Linked DNA regions of Homo sapiens: regions 2, 3, 4, 5 and 6 are each linked to region 1. The links are contacts of gene promoters, found by promoter capture Hi-C in blood cells and fetal thymus (Javierre and others, 2016). All regions are on one chromosome and are shown on one strand. The core of a region is centred on a gene start or on the middle of the fragment in contact, and the rest is flanking DNA. Distances in the headings are between cores, read along the strand shown.

Evidence for each region. The method cuts DNA at HindIII sites, captures the fragments that hold promoters and counts their contacts. A CHiCAGO score of 5 or more calls a contact.
Region 2: a fragment that was not itself captured here is called in contact with the fragment with the promoter of WAC-AS1 in region 1 in 1 of 17 cell types (fetal thymus); the score reaches 5.1 in fetal thymus.
Region 3: a fragment that was not itself captured here is called in contact with the fragment with the promoter of WAC-AS1 in region 1 in 1 of 17 cell types (naive B cells); the score reaches 5.1 in naive B cells.
Region 4: a contact is called between a fragment that was not itself captured here and the fragment with the promoter of WAC-AS1 in region 1, in 1 of 17 cell types (fetal thymus). The highest score is 8.5, in fetal thymus.
Region 5: a fragment that was not itself captured here is called in contact with the fragment with the promoter of WAC-AS1 in region 1 in 2 of 17 cell types (non-activated CD4 T cells and total B cells); the score reaches 7.4 in non-activated CD4 T cells.
Region 6: a contact is called between a fragment that was not itself captured here and the fragment with the promoter of WAC-AS1 in region 1, in 2 of 17 cell types (fetal thymus and activated CD4 T cells). The highest score is 6.3, in fetal thymus.

Annotation. Positions count from the first base shown.
Region 1 is chr10:28,530,940-28,533,603 of GRCh38, forward strand. It overlaps WAC-AS1 (WAC antisense RNA 1), which reads right to left and starts at 1,415. Exons shown (of 3, transcript NR_033805.1): 1 at 796-1,415. WAC (WW domain containing adaptor with coiled-coil) reads left to right here and starts at 2,179. Exons shown (of 14, transcript NM_016628.5): 1 at 2,179-2,664. The coding sequence starts at 2,641. RefSeq lists silencers at 1,433-1,852, 2,223-2,372, 2,583-2,662 and enhancers at 1,579-2,262, 1,883-2,072. The HindIII fragment of the contact is 8,015 bases long and covers 1-2,664 here.
Region 2 is chr10:26,853,191-26,855,854 of GRCh38, forward strand. The region is part of intron 1 of ABI1 (abl interactor 1); the gene reads right to left. Among named protein-coding and RNA genes, the nearest start is that of ABI1, 6.4 kb to the right of the region's middle. The HindIII fragment of the contact is 9,481 bases long and covers 1-2,664 here.
Region 3 is chr10:27,171,169-27,173,832 of GRCh38, forward strand. MASTL (microtubule associated serine/threonine kinase like) reads left to right here. Exons shown (of 12, transcript NM_001172303.3): 9 at 1,950-2,091. Among named protein-coding and RNA genes, the nearest start is that of MASTL, 17 kb to the left of the region's middle. The HindIII fragment of the contact is 652 bases long and covers 976-1,627 here.
Region 4 is chr10:27,233,024-27,235,687 of GRCh38, forward strand. It overlaps ACBD5 (acyl-CoA binding domain containing 5), which reads right to left. Exons shown (of 13, transcript NM_145698.5): 3 at 2,069-2,189. Among named protein-coding and RNA genes, the nearest start is that of ACBD5, 6.4 kb to the right of the region's middle. The HindIII fragment of the contact is 2,508 bases long and covers 41-2,548 here.
Region 5 is chr10:27,505,893-27,508,556 of GRCh38, forward strand. The region is part of intron 1 of RAB18 (RAB18, member RAS oncogene family); the gene reads left to right. Among named protein-coding and RNA genes, the nearest start is that of RAB18, 2.9 kb to the left of the region's middle. The HindIII fragment of the contact is 3,454 bases long and covers 1-2,664 here.
Region 6 is chr10:27,524,724-27,527,387 of GRCh38, forward strand. RAB18 (RAB18, member RAS oncogene family) reads left to right here. Exons shown (of 7, transcript NM_021252.5): 3 at 2,105-2,166. Among named protein-coding and RNA genes, the nearest start is that of RAB18, 22 kb to the left of the region's middle. The HindIII fragment of the contact is 206 bases long and covers 1,227-1,432 here.

The DNA of each region.
Region 1 (2,664 bases), core at 165-2,664:
ACTAAAGTGATTGTTCAGCTTCAGCCTCTGGGAGTAGCTAGGAATACAGGCATGCATCACCATGCCTGGCTACTTTTGAGCAAATGGTTTATACCAATTTCAGCAGACATCTAGTTATCAAACAAATTAGTAGTAATTTTGCTGCCAGTTTTCAAAGTTTCTATGAAATGTTATTTGTTGTACTCCTCTGATGTTTGTCTTCAATGGATTCACTACAAATATGTCAGAAATTACATGTTAAGATGCTACCGAATTTTTTTGTTTTCATAATTTCAGTCACTGTCAATTTTTTTTTTTAGTTACTGGTAGTTTAAGAGAGCATTAAATAGGCTTTTTATTGGTCTGCACATCTCCACAAACAGCAATAAGCTCTACATCTGGCAGATGGATGTGACAAATAAGATTATGTAATTAAAATTTTTTTTCCAACCAGTTGTGATTTCAGAGCCTTTCTCCCTACATCATTCCATCTCTCCATTCTATTAGGTCTAGCAATAACGTAACTTCTTGGATACCAAGTAAATCAGTTACTTTTTATTTTTTGGAGGGGGTTGTTTCTTCTGACTTGTTTACTATTTGCCTCTTCTGTGTTAATCACCTAATTATGTTTACCACAATTCTTTTCATTAAACTATGTTGCCTTACAAATAGTGCAAAAAAAAAAAAAAAAGTCAACCAATCACCCGAATACCACCACTCTCAACTAACGGTTGTTTGGTATACTTCACGTTTCTTCTCTCAATGTACCTGCAGCAGTACATAAAATCAAATTTGTAGCAATTTCACTTAACACACCTGAGAACTTTCACATGAATTTTCTTTCACCAATGGACTTCAGCGAGGAAGAAACAGAGGAGGGAAAAGTGAGAGATAAAGAGAGGGTGGGCAGGGCACCGCTGGGTATGGAAAACGTTAGAAAGGGATGGAAAACGTTAGAAAGGGGTGAAAAGCCGAGCGCAGTGGCTCACGCCTGTAATCCCAGCACTTTGGGAGGCCGAGGCGGGAGGATCGCTTCAGGCCAGGGGTTCGAGACCAGCCTGGGTAACACAGCGAGACCCTATCTCCGGAAAAACTTTTTTTAAAAAATTAGCCGGGTGTGGTGGTGCATGCCCGTGGTGCCAGCTACTTAGAGGGCTGAGGTGGGATGACCCGTAAGCCCCGGAGGTCGAGGCTGCAGTGAGCCGTGATCGCGTCACTGCACTCAGACTGGACGACAGCGCGAGACCTGTCTCAAAAAAAAATAACAAGGGGTAGGGTGGGGCAGTGAGATGGTTCAGCGTTGTTCCCAAGGAACTCATCTCCCTAAATTTCCAGTCTCAAGCGCCGCTTTCATTCCCTGCCCCGAGCGGCGCTCCCCGCTCCGTGCACGCATCTCCGCTGAGGGCCGCCCTGACGCACGGCCTTCTGCCTTGAACACAGAACCCCTCAGCCCTTCCTATTAGCCGTTTCTGGCCGGGACTGCACGCGCTCCTTCCTGCCTCGGGGCGCAGGGTGAGACTTACGTCTAAAGGGCGCCCGGCGAGCTCGCAGCAGCCCCTGCCCCGCGGAGGGCCGGTGGCGCGCGGCGTCCGGTGAGGGGCAGCGGCCCGGGCTCGGTTCCGGCTTCCAGCAGCGGCCCGAAGGCGCCGGAGCACGCTCCCCGCTCCCCAGAACGCAGCTTCCGCGGCTGCAGCCCAGGCAGCTCTTCGGGAAGCGTCCGCCCGTGGTCTCGCCAGGGGGTTTCCGACCTCCCCGCCCGACAGCGCAGGGGCGGGGGCCGCGGCCGGAGAGCTCGCCCGAGAGCACCCCCTCCCGCTGCGCCTCTGGGCGCACGCGCAGCCGCTGCAGCCTCCCTTATTTAGTCCGCGATGGCTTCCCTCGCGCCCCACCGTCCTCTTCCGGAAGGCGGCTCCCTCCCTGCGCAGCCCGGAGCCCCTGAGATCAGCCTCGAGCAGGCGCCCGAGCGAGACTATCCCTAAACGGGAACGGCGGTGGCCGACTCGCGAGTGAGGAAAAGAAGGAAAGGGCAGACTGGTCGCGAAGAGAAGATCCAGGCCTCAGAGGAGGAGAAAGGCCGGAGCCAGCCGAGGTTTGCCGAGGGCGGTGTTCCGGACCCGCGCGGTGCGGGGAGGAAGGCCGAGGGTGGGAGAGGAGGGGCCCGGCGGAAACTGCCGAGGTTTCCCGAAGGCGGCAGCGTCCGAGTTGCCCGGATGTAGTTGGTGGAGCGGCAGCGGCGGCACCAGCGGCGGCGGCGGCGGCGGGAGGAGGAGGAGGAGAAGAAGGACCAGGCGGCGGCAGCAGCGGCGGCGGCGGGGGGAGGAGGGGAGGAGGCGGCGGAGCAGGAGGAGGAGAAGGCGGAGGAGGCAGTCGCTCTCCGCGGGGCTGAGCCGGACGCGTCGTCTTGCCCCCCTCCCCCCGGTTCGCGGTGCCGCCGTGTAGTTGGCGCCGCTGCCCCGGCTGAGAGTGAGCGTGGTGTCGACGGAGGGAGATGGCCCGGGAGCGCCGGCGCCAGTAACTGGGAGCTGATGAGAGTCGCCGAGGGCGCGCCGGGCCCAGGTGCCGGGGCTGCCCGCCGCCCGCCGCCGCCGCCGCCTGCGCGCCCGCCCGCCTTTCGCGGCCGCTCTCCCCCCTCCCCGACACACACTCACAGGCCGGGCATTGATGGTAATGTATGCGAGGAAACAG
Region 2 (2,664 bases), core at 58-2,557, 1.7 Mb before region 1:
CACCACTGCACTCCGGCCTGGGTGACAGAGCGAGACTCCATCTCAAAAAAAAAAAAAAAAAAAATCCAGTAATTGCTACTTTCCTATTGTCTTATTTCTCAACAATGCCCTTTTTTTTTTTTAAAAAAAATCCCTTTTTTCTAACATGATGTCTTAGTAAATATTAAGATCTACAAAGTTTGTAGTTCTGGGGTTTGACTATTATTTCTTCTACAATCAAACCATAATTTCAATAAATATTACAATCAACACAAGATGATATTAGGAAAAATATACAACCTCCCAATCAAAACTTTGTAAATGCTTCAAAATTAGCATTAACTATCAATTTTACCTTACTTTTTTTTTTTTTTTTTTTTGAGACGGAGTCTCGCTCTGTCACCCAGGCTGCCAGGCTGGAGTTCAGTGGCACAATCTCAGCTCACTGCAAGCTCCGCCTCCGGGTTCACGCCATTCAGCCGCCTCAGCCTCCCAGGTAGCTGGGACTACAGATGCCCGCCACCACACCCAGCTAACTTTGTTTCTGTATTTTTAGTAGAGACGGGGTTTCACCATGTTAGCCAGGATGGTCTCGATCTTCTGACCTCATGATCCGCCCGCCTCATCCTCCCAAAGTGCTGGGATTACAGGTGTGAGCCACCACGCCCAGCCTTTACCTTACTTTTCATGCCAACACTATTTTCATGGGTTTTATAGATTTATATCTGCACAATATCCTAGAGTTTGATCCAACCTCTTGTCCCAATATGAACACTCTTCCTTTCTGGCTAACATATTTTTGACTGTTAACTGTCTTAATTCTTAGGACATAATTTCACTGAATATAAATAAGGTTACTGTAAATGGTCACACAGCAGATCCCCAGTTGCCTAAATATCTCCTTTCCACAAGGACTATTAGCATTCCTGAGCTATCAGAATCAACTGGAGAACGCAGAAGCACACAAGAAAAATTTGCAAGTATCCTAAGAGATTATTTCAATAATTTTCTAAGAAAACTCTCCAAAAGACAGAAGCATGCTAAAATTGAGGTTCTAAACAGACCAGGACTAGTCAGAAGTACTACATATAAAGCTGTTATTAGTATTAAAGCCACAAAAGAAAAAAGAGAAGACATTAGTTTTAATACAAATTTGCAAATATTATATAGTCCTAAAAATATGCAGTATTCTCACCTTGAGAGTATTAGCAAGAACTGATATATGTGATATGGACTTTCATAAGAACTGATATGCTGGGTTCACAGACTTGGTGTGAAAGAAGAAAAAAAAAAAGGAAAGAAAAGAAAAAAAAAGAACTGATATGCTAGGTCAGATCCTGCTCTACCCAGCCCTGTATCACCTTGACACAACAGCATGAATAAACATGTAATGACATGGTATGGGTCGATTTAACAATTAACTGAGGATCTTCCATAAAATTATCTAACCTTCTGTTAAATACATTTACATTTCCAACCTACATCTCTAACTTTGCTAGTCACTGTTTTACTCACACTTCAAAGTGCAATTCTAGGAATTCTAACCATTCCAGTCTATCCTCATCTCCTGAATCACTTTGACTGTTTTTCCCCAAACCTGGTTTGTATAGAAATCACATCTACCCAGAATATTTCCACATATTTTTTGTTAATCTCTACAAATGCTTCTTCAAAATTTCTTAGCACAATTGCAACACAGACTAACAATAGAAAAAAGACAGGCAAGGATGCAGGAAAAGAAAAAAGGATCCAGGGAGCTCAGTGAAAAGCTAGGCTGTAATTCCTATACAGGTTCAGTATCCCTAATCTGGAAATCCAAAACCCAAAACTTCTTGAGCATCAACATGACACAAAAATAAATGCTCATTAGACTATTCTGGATTTCAGATTTTCAGATTAGGGAGGCTCAACCAGTAAGTATATAATGCAAACATTCCAAAATTCAAAAAAAAATCTGAAACATTTCTGGTCCCAAGCATTTTGAATAAAGGATACTTAACCTGTAGTTGAACACTTCAAATGCCAAAGTTACCATCTTTTGGTGATATAGGCAAGTCCCTAAATTACAAACATATCTCTTCTTATATTCACAACCTGGAAACAATGGTAAAGAGTTGTTAGGTTCCCAGGCTTGCCCAATACCAGTCTATTCTGTTTATTCCACGGTATTCCTGAACCAGTTTTGAGTTCTAGATTCTTTCATGTGAAAACAGTATGATATGAAAAGAGCACAGCCTATGGAGTCTGCCAGAGTCAGAAGGAAGTCCTGACTGCCAATTACTAACTCTATGACTAAACAAAACTTAACTTTTATGAGTCCTAATTTCCTCATATGTAAGACAGCACTGTCTGTCGTGGCGAGTTTGTAAGGATTAAAGATAATACAAAACCAACCAGCAGAGACTGCAATGGAGTACGTATTCAATAAATAGAGGCAATTATATTACCCTCTACCCTTCTCTATTACCCTCTGCGCACATTGTTTTTATCCCCTATGTTGCCATAAGAACCCTGTTTAGGGCCGGGTGCGGTGGCTCACACCTGTAATCCCAGCACTTTGGGAGGCCAAGGCGGGTGGATCACCCGAGGTCAGGAGTTTGAGACCAGCCTGGCCAATATGGTGAAACTCCGTCTCTACTAAAAATACAAAAATTAGCCAGGCATGGTGGTGGGCACCTGTAATCT
Region 3 (2,664 bases), core at 52-2,551, 1.4 Mb before region 1:
TATTAATCATATAGTTCTGTTCTTCTTGTTGAGAATCTGTGGGCTGTTGGAAGTTTTCACCCAGAAAAGTAAAGCTGGTAGAAATCATGTTTATTATTTTTAGCTGTAATGCCTCCTTCCATTTGTGTCGTTTTATGTACTTTCCTAAGAAAATACAATCACATATTTTCACTTGATCCCCACAGTACTATGAGTTACAAAATTAATTTTCACTTGATCCCCACAGTACTATGAGTTACAAAATTATTATTATTATTATTATTATTATTATTATTATTATTATTGAGACAGTCTCGTTCTTTTGCCCAGGCTGGAGTGCAGTAGTGTGATCTTGGCTCATTGCACACTTCACCCCCAGGTTCAAGCGATTCTCCTGCCTCAGCCTCCCAAGTAGCTGGGATTATAAGGGGCCCACCACCACACCTGGCTAATTTTTGTATTTTTAGTAGAGTCGGAATTTCACCATGTTGCCCAGGCTGATCTCAAACTCGTGACCTCAAGCAATCCGCCCACCTCGGCCTCTCAAAGTGCTAGGATTACAGGTGTGAGCCACCTCACCTGGCCAGAGATAATTTAAGTCCGCTCTACCTTACTGCCTTCCAAGGACATATTTAGATGATCTCTTCTTAAGAGAATAAAAGTTGAAAAATATGTTTCTTTTTTTTTTTTTTTTTTTTTTGAGACAAAGTCTCGCTCTGTCACCAGGCTGGAGTGCAGTGGCGCGATCTTGGCTCACTGCAACCTCCGCCTCCCGGGTTCAAGCGATTCTCCTGCTTCAGCCTCCTGAGTAGCTAGGACTACAGGCATGTGCCACCATGCCCAGCTAATTTTTGTATTTTTAGTAGAGATGGGGTTTCACCACGTTGGCCAGGATGGTCTCGATCTCTTGACCTTGTGATCTGCCTGCCTTGGCCTCCCAAAGTGCTGGGATTACGGGCATGAGCCACCATGCCCAGCGAAAAATATATATTTCAAAGCTTACTCTCTATATTCTAAACCTTTACCAACCCAAAGTTTTACTTTTTTTCTTCCTTTGGGAAAACATCATAACATAAAATGTGTAACCCCTGAATTTATGTTTCGAAACTTGAGTTTTCTACCCAAGACTTACTATTAAATGACTTAGAAGTCCCTTAACCTCAGACCTGCAATTTTTCTAAATGTCTGTAAGGGATAATGGCACCTGTCTTGCTGGTCTTACAAAGTTGTTGTGAATGCCAGGCGTGGTGGCTCACACCATCTTTGGGAGGCCAAGGTGGGAGGATCACCTGAGGTCGGGAGATCGAGACCAGCCTGACCAACATGGAGAAACCCCGTCTCTACTAAAAATACAAAATTAGCCAGGCATGGTGGTGTATGCCTGTAATCCCAGCTACTTGGGAGGCTGAGGCAGGAAAATTCCTTGAACCTGGGAGGCGGAGGTTGTGGTGAGCCGAGATCGCACCACTGCACTCCAGCCTGGGCAACAAGAGCGAAACTCCATCTCAAAAAAAAAAACTTGTTGTGAAATAACAAATTATCCTAAAAATTTTTAAATGCTATTTAGTACAATAGGTTATATGTAGTTCTGTCTTACGTGTTGTCTTAATCATTTGTTAGCCATAGCCTTCCTCAGTGGCTCTTCTTAAGCTTGTATTAGTCCATGCTATCAGTCTTCTTGCAGATTTTTTCACTGAACATTTTTCTTGCAGATTTTTTTTATTGTTTCTTATCTAGATCTTATTGGAATAATCAGTGTTGTCTAAGCTTTTGAACTTCACCAGATAAAAGGACTTTTTCATAATTATAACTAATTATGCATTCATTTTCAAAACTTATCAAAAATTTGACTACATCCTTTACGCCTAGTAGCCTATGAGCTAGTTATTTGGCTTGTGTGTTTCACCATTTTCTATTCGGTGTAAAAGGAATTAAGATATTTGTTATCTCTTAAACCCTTTTTGAATTAGCAGACCCCAAATCAGATCAAGTCGGGAACTCCATACCGAACTCCGAAGAGTGTGAGAAGAGGGGTGGCCCCCGTTGATGATGGGCGAATTCTAGGAACCCCAGACTACCTTGCACCTGAGCTGTTACTAGGCAGGGCCCATGGTAAGGCATGCATGTCTTGAGTTTTTGAAGTGTTATCTATCACTACATTATCTTTCAAGGTTAAATTTTAAAAAATTTCTTCAGTACTTACGTTACCTAAAGTAAAAGAAAATGAACTCATCTAGTATATATATGGCATTTGTCATAGGAAAATAAACTAGCAGTAGCCATGGCTGTCCCACTCTCTGAATGTAAAAGACCAGATGCTGGAGTACATGTAGTCATTTGTCCTTTGCCTTCTGGTTCAGTCTCAATGTTCCAGAGAAGCCCCACCTGCCACCCTTGATATTATCTTATCTCTTTTTTTATTTTTTTATTTATTTTTATTTTTATTTTTTGAGACAGAGTTTCTCTTTTGTCACCCAGGCTGGAGTGCAATGGTGCAATCTCGGCTCACTGCAATCTCTGCCTCCCAGGTTCAAGTGATTCTCTGGCCTCAGCCTCCTGAGTAGCTGGGATTACAGGCATCCACCATCATGCCCGCCTAATTTTTGTATTTTTAGTAGAGACAGTTTCACCATGTTAGCCAGACTGGTCTTTAACTCCTGACCTCAGGTGATCCTCCCACCTTGG
Region 4 (2,664 bases), core at 45-2,544, 1.3 Mb before region 1:
GATCTTAAAGGAAAGTAGAGAACTAAGAAATCTTAAAACAAGCTTATGGCACTTCCAGTTCAGGGTGAAGAAACTGAGCATCACAGTGTGTGGGGAAAAAACAAACAAACAAACAAAAATGGGCAGGGCACAGTGGCTTATGCCTGTAATCTCAGCACTTTGAGAGGCCATGGCGGGCGGATCACTTTAGGTCAGGAGTTCGAGACTAGCCTGGCCAACATGGTGAAATTCTGTCTTTACTAAAGACATAAAAATTAGCCAGGCGTGGTGGCACGCGCCTGTAATCCCAGCTACTCGTGAGGCTGAGGCAGGAGAATTGCTTGAACTTGGGAGGCGGAGATTCAGTGAGCCAAGATCGCGCCACTGCACTCCAGCCTGGGCGACAGAGTGAGACTCCGTCTGAAGAAAAAAAAAAAAAAAAACTGGTGTGGCATGGTGGTTCACACCTGTAATCCCAGCCAAGGCAGGTGGATCACTTGAGACCAGGAATTTGAGACCAGCCTGGGCAACACATGCAAACCCCGTCTAGGAAAAAATTTAAAAAATTAGCCGGGTGTGGTGGCACAAGCATGTGGTCCCAGCTACTAGGGCGGCTGAGGTGGGAGAATTGTTTGAGCCCAGGAGGCAGAGGTTGCAGTGAGCCATGATGGTGCCACTACACTCCAGCCTGAGTGATGGGAGTGAGACCCTGTGTCCAAAAAAAAGGTGTGGGTTTTAAAACATGCTTCACCACTGGGGCGGGAGCGGGGGGTGGCTCACGCCTATAATCCCACCACTTTGGGAGGCCGAGGCGGGCAGATCACCTGATGTCGGGAGTTCAAGACCAGCCTGACCAACATGGAGAAACCCTGTCTCTACTAAAAATACAAAATTAGCTAGGCGTGGTGGCGCATGCCTGTAATCCTAGCTACTCAGGAGGCTGAGGCAGGAGAATCGCTTGAACCTGGGAGGCAGAGGTTGCGGTGAGCTGAGGTCACGCCATTGCACTCCAGCCTGGGCAACAAGAGTGAAACTCCATCTCAAAAATAAATAAATAAATAAAACATGCTTCACCAATTAGCATATTCTGTTCATAACGTACAGTCTAAAATTGACTTTTCTCAGACATTTGTGAAGGCTTCAATTGTATTAGAGTATCAACTGTTAGTCAACTGGGAAAACAGCACGGATGAGTACAGGTACCTGTATCTATAATTCTTTTAGTTTATAGTTTATAATTCATTTAAGTATACTTTTTAGTTTAGAATTCTTTTAAGTATATAAAAGATCAAATTTCTATTCAATTACAGTAGGTCAGAAGTGACAGCTTAGATAAAAAGTTAGCATGGCAGTACCTGAGTCATATTCCTAGTTATTTATTATCTTCAAGGCTCAGTACAAACAAGGAAAAGCCATTATTTTTCTTGCAGGCAAAAGAGGCAGTTAAAAGTTTGTTTATTTAACTTAGGTTGGGAGTTGCTCTTGCCTTAAAAAAAAAAAAAAAAAAAGGGAAAACTCCATGAAAGTAAAGATTAACTGATAATGCTTCTTTATCTTTGATGCACCTATCCCTTTTGGTTTTACTGTTTTCCTCTCCTCCCCAAGATTTTCCTATTTGTGTAAAATTGTACTAAGAGCACCTGGGAAGGCTGGGCATGGTGGCTCACGCCTGTAATCCCAGCACTTCGGGAGGCCGAGGTGGGCGGACCACCTGAACCCAGCAGTTCGAGACCAGCGTGGCCAACATAGTGAAACCCTGTCTCTACTAAAAATACAAAAATTAGCTGGGTGTGGTGGCGCGCACCTGTAATCCCACCTACTCAGGAAGATGAGGCAGGAGAATCACTTGAACCCAGGAGGCAGAGGCTGCAGTGAGCCGAGATCCTGCCACTGCACTCCAGCCTGGGCAACAGAGTGAGACTCCATCTCAAAAACAAACAAACAAAAAAGAAAACCTGGAGGATAAAAATTGTACCCAATACCTAGGACACTTTCTGCACAGAATAATATATAACCACTTAAGTAATAGCCATATGATAATTATGTCATTAAAATTTAAATTCTTGCATAGCTCTACACAAAAAATTACCATTTATATCTTCCAATAGGATCCCAAAATCCAGGCCTTGAAAGTTTACAGGGTCCTTCAGTTGCCTGCTTATAGAAGCTATAAAATTTAAGCATCATTTCATTTGTTGGCTGGAATGAACCTGTTGGAAACACACATTAAATACAAATCACCTGGGGAATACAACTGATAATCAGGTTATAAATTAGCTTAGCTATACTAATAGTGATTTTATATTGCATTAATACTTTAGATAATGATTTATTTCTAGCTTATAGAAACAAAAGTTATGGTTCTGTTAGTTGCTTGCTTCTTTGATTTCAAAACACTCTGAGATTTTAAACTTTAATAGCAATGCCTAAGATGGTTCAATAAATAAAAGAATACATGAATAGACATGCTGTAGATATAACCAAAATAACCTGCAAATGTCTCTTTAAAAACATACTAAAATATAGAATAACTATTATTAAGCAATCGTAATAAGGTACTTTTATTCAAAGCTTATGACAAATCAAAACTGACTAGTGTAAGTGAAAAAGTTATATGTATACTCTGCCAAATTTCAAATTCTCAGTAGATAAGGAATTTGGGGCTAAAGCCAAAGAGTATACACT
Region 5 (2,664 bases), core at 112-2,611, 1.0 Mb before region 1:
GTGTCTACTGGAATGAAGGATTTGCACATACCAAGGAATAGAATAATGAAATACTATGAGTTAGCAAACCAGCATGATTTGTCTGTGTGTGTGTAAAAGGCATGAGTAAAATTATTTACATGATCATCTATTATTGCACATACATATTTGAGTGTTAAAAAGTTAAACGTTGTCTTAATAGGAATTTCACAGCCTTGTGATCTTTCTTTTTCTTTTCTCCTTTTTTCCTTGAGATATCGTTCTCATTTAAGTTCAGGCATATGAAATTAGTGTTTTTGAAGTCAAGAATGGTTGGTTGTCATTTCATGTAGTTCAACCCAATACATGGTTGGTTAGCACTTTTTCTAAATGTATTGCATGGATGACAAGTTAGGGTATGTTAAAATTTTCTGGAAGGTTAACTGGAGTATATAAACAAAATTCCTCTGCTCTACCCGCTGTTTTTTTGAGACAGGGTCTTATTCTGTCACCCAGACTGGAGTGCAGTGGCATGATCATAGCTCACTGCAGTCTCAATCTCCTGGGCTCAAGTGATCCTCCCACCTCAGCCTTTTGAGTAGCTGGACTATAGGCACGAGTCACCATGTCTGACTAGTGTTTTTTTATTTTTTATAGAGAGGAGGACTCACTGTGTTGCCCAGGCTGTCTCGAACTCCTGAGCTCAACAGATCCTCCTGCCTTGACCTCCCAAAGTGCTAGGAACATAAGCATGAGCCACCACAACCGGCCCTACTTCTAAAATTTTTTTCATAGATGGGATTTTCCTATGTTGCCCAGGTGGTCTCCAACACACAGGCTCAAGCCAAACTCCTGCCTCATACTCCTAAAGTGCTGGGATTACAGACACAAGGCATGACACCCAACCGAGGTTCTCCTTGTAGAGTAAGGCCTGTTAAGTGGATTTATCAGTCTCCCTAGTTCATGCCACCGAAACAAAGAAACAAATTTACCGTGGGCCTAATCTGTTTTAAACTTTTTCCTCAATACGTAGCAATGGATTATCAACTGCTCGATGCAGGATTTTGTCACTTTATTTCTTTTGTGAAAGGATTACATATAGTGAGAAAGTTGTCTTATTTGTCTAGCTAGATATACATTATTGGCCTGTGTGATATGCTGTGGAAAACAATCTTAAACACTCTGGATAAGATGAGAATAAATGACTCCACTGAAATAGAAGTCTATGCCTTTTAAAGTGAATTAGTACAAAAACATTTGCTGTGGATATGATCTTAAAGGATTGTTTTAACCAAGTTTGTTTCTATTTCATTACAGAGCTGGAGCTAGTGGAAGTGAGATAGCACTTGTGCTGTTGGGGAAAACAAAGGATATGTTTAATCCGAATTAGTGGATTACTTTCTAGTGATTTCATAGTGTTAGAGTCTAAAGGGTATGTGATAGTAGTCAGGAGATCAGGATTATGAAACTGGGGCTGCCACTTGTGTGACCTTGTGTGTGATACTTGAATGCTGTAGGCCTTCATTTCAAAAGCGAGGGGGTTGGAATAGAAACCTCTCAGACCCTAAATGTGTAAGACTCCAATTCTGTGGCTAGGCCTGGTAAGGTAAAGAGTAGCAGAATATATCAAGAACTGGAAGGGATTAGAGAGACCTATTATCTAAATTGCTGTCCCTCCTTTGCCCCTTGCCTTCCCTTTTTTTTTTTTTTTTGGTGAATTTCATATGTAAATTTAAAAAATGCAGATTAGTTATAATCACACTCTGTTTATTATAAATTTGGTCACATCTAAGTGCCATGGTGGTAGTTACTCCTTCCATCTCTACTTCTGCATGGGAAACATTTTGCTCCTTTAACTTTGAAAATATGAGGGTGTAAATATACAATACTATAAGAATGGTGCTTCTGCCAGGTGCAGTGGCTCATCCTGTAATCCTAGCTACTCGGGAGGCTGAGACAGGAGGATCTCTTGAGGCCAGGAGTCCGAGACCAGCTTGGGCAACATAACGAGACCATGCCTCTAAAAAAATAAAAATAAAAAAATTAGCCGGCCATGGTGATGCACACCTGTCATGCCAGTTACTTGGGGGGCTAAGGTGGGAGGATTAGTGAGCTGTGATTCTGCCACTGCATTCCAGCCTGGGTGACAGAGTGAGACCCTCTCTCTTAAAAAAAAAAAAAAAAAAGTGTGCTTCTTAATTATTTTGAGATTGTCAGTTCTTTTCAAAATCTAATAGAGAAATGGACTCTCTGTCCCTTTCAAAGTCTAATAGAGAAATGGACTCTCTGCCTAGAAAAATGCACACATAGAATTTAGAATACTTTTTGGGCTACCAGGGTACCCCTGTCTAAGATCTGATGTATACCCAGAGCCTGTATTAAAATTTGTTGCTTCACACCATGCCACCAATTCCCTGCCTCTCCTTACAAAGTACTGTTAATAACAAAGGCCATTTAAGGATTAGCAATTATGAGAGAAAAACCTCTGGCTTTGTGTCTGCACATTGCCATATGTTCAATAAATAATACCCAATATCATCATTATTGTATTATTATTATGATATTATTACAACTAGTCTACAAGGTAATCTTATGTTTTTGTAGTAATATTTTCTGTGGTGACCACGTGTAGATATTATGTATCTTTTCTTAAATTATGGGTAACTGAGTATGTTGGGAGAGAAGAAAAATTTTATAGGTAGTCTT
Region 6 (2,664 bases), core at 80-2,579, 1.0 Mb before region 1:
AATCTCTCAAAAAGACTCCCACTGCTGCTACCAATTAAGATAAATTATCAGCCACTTAACAAAAGAGAAGCATGATGAAGAAGCAGTTTTAGCATGTGAGATCTGAAGAGCTCAATTGCTGCATGTGAGATTCACCAGAGGAACCTAGGGAAGATGACTGGGGACTTTAGGGGTCTGGATTTAGATTAGGTGCCCCTTCAGGCTACCTGTGTCTGTTGGCTTTGATGGCAGGACGACAGTGTTCAGTGTCTCCTGTGGATGGGTATTGGTAAGTTTCAGATATAATATGTCAAAAGCATAACTTAGAGACATTGTTAGTTATCCACATGCAAATTATTCTTATGTCAGAGACAGTCATTAGACTGTTCACAACAAACTTGCAGAACCAGGAAATAATAATAGAGAAAGAGGAGTTGGGGTATGGGAAGAAAACACATACATTCTGGAAGCGGTGGGTTTCTTTTCTTGGGTAAACAAATTAGCTCATAGGAAAGATGCTTGTCTGCTCTTGAACATGTATCTGGGATTATTAAGGAAAAAAATTAGTTCTTTATATACTCCCTGAAAAACCTTGAGAATTTAACTGTAGAGTGTGCATGACAGAGGCTATCTCTGTGTAGTGTCTGCCAGTGGCTGTCATTTAGTACCTGCACCAAGTCAGAACCATTTTCCTCCTCTGAATTTTCTCAGGGTTTGTGCTTTGCTTTTTTTTTTTTAAAGCAATAGGAAGAAAATGTAGATAATTTCATGTTGTTTATGTAGATGGTTCCACTTTTAAAATGGCATAGTAACTTCTTTATTTAGACCTGGTTAATACAAGATTATTTAGCATGTGGGATTTTTTGTTTGTTTGGCTGTGAAGAAATTTTATATTTAGGTTTTTGTTGGGCTATGTAATCAACACTGTCCTTTTACTAATGGTTGCCCATCATTCTAGGCTTTATCAACTCCTTTATCACCCCAGCTCAAAACACCAAACTTAAAAATATATATATTTGGTATACAGAAAGACCTGGCATAATGCACATTTTGAATGTGCATTTTTATTACTGAATTTGTATATGTAATGGATCACCACAAGTCTTCCAAGAATTACAAATATATTTCCATATTGGTGACAGGTGTTCTATTAAGCATTTAGTATGTGAGGGTGCTGTTCATCTTAGTTGGGGCTGTTCTGAATTAATTGTGACAAGCTAATAAGATATTTTGAAAGTTTCTTTCCAAGCTTCTTGAGCTAATGTTTTCCCTCTGGCCAGTGGGGTAGACTGAACTCTTGAAAGACATGTGGGCAGTTGCTGTTCATTTAAGCCAGATGGCATGTGTCAACTCCTTTTCCTGGAAAGGGAGAGGTTTCTTTTTTGGCTGCTGTAATAAAGCCTTGTGGACTTCTTATGAAACTCTTTTCTTTACATAAATTAGTACTTATAGAAGCTTTTCATAGAACTTTGGGCACTCCTCTTTCACTTATGAAGATTCTTAGATGGTTGTATATAAATGTTTTCATGTATAAATTGTTTTATTGAAATTGTGCTGTAGCAAGTTATTGATTAGGTTATTACATAAAAATAGTATTTTTTTAGGATAAAAATAAAGAGATTATATGACAAGGAGTGAGTGGCCCTTTAATATTTTTACCGGTTCCCCAAGCTGCTTACAGTCAAGATCTGAGTTAGTGGTTGGCTGGCAGTGGACAGCACTCTTAACAGTAGCATGTGGATGCTTAGGGAGCCCCTGGAAGCTGCCATGACCCACAGTCAGCCATGGATAGTCTTCTTTATGTGAGCATTGTAATTGCAGCTCTTGACTTTTAACACGCATAGTGAGTTATCACCTTAAATTGAATTTCGTTTTTCCTTTTTGGAAGAATAGAAGGTAGGTGAGTGAGTGAATTCTACAAGCATTTGATTTTCATTTATCCTGATTAAATCCTAAGATCCTGGATTTTAATGACACTTTTTATCTCCACATCCAGAATTCTAAGAAGTTGGGGTGTGAATTGGGCATTTGATAATAGTGACTTTTCTGTTTTCTGGTTTTCTTGGTAATGGATTTTAAAAGTCTGTTTTACTGGGAGACTTATCAAAATTTTCATTTCTTTAAGGTGTTGACTTTAAGGTGAAAACAATTTCAGTGGATGGAAATAAGGCTAAACTTGCAATATGGGTAAGAGTTTTTAAAATGTATTTTTAAAATATTAAACTTTACTTTTTAAGGATGCAGAAATTGATTTGTGTAGTGTTCTAGAGGTGGTGAATGAACAATTTGTATTAAATAACTTTTGGGAGATTTGATACTGATTAAAGGATAAACAGTAATGTCTTATAATTGGGTAATTAGGCAGCTATGTTTTGTTTAAATTTTCACAATGCATAATTCTTTATGAATATTTCAAAACAGAACAGAATATTAAAAAATCATCTCATCTGCCAAAGAGAATCATAATTGGATATGTTTCTTTGAAGTTTTAAAAAGACCATCTAGACTGAACTAACACTAAAGACAATTTTTAAGGGGAGGAGGAATGACGTGATATTTAGGAAAAAATTTTATTTTTCTTGTTTGTTAGTATAGATATTTATAAAATTTGAGGTTTCAAACTTTGGGCTTATTTTTAATGCCTCGTTTTTCCTTACTGGCTTCTTTTCGTTTTCCTGTCAATCC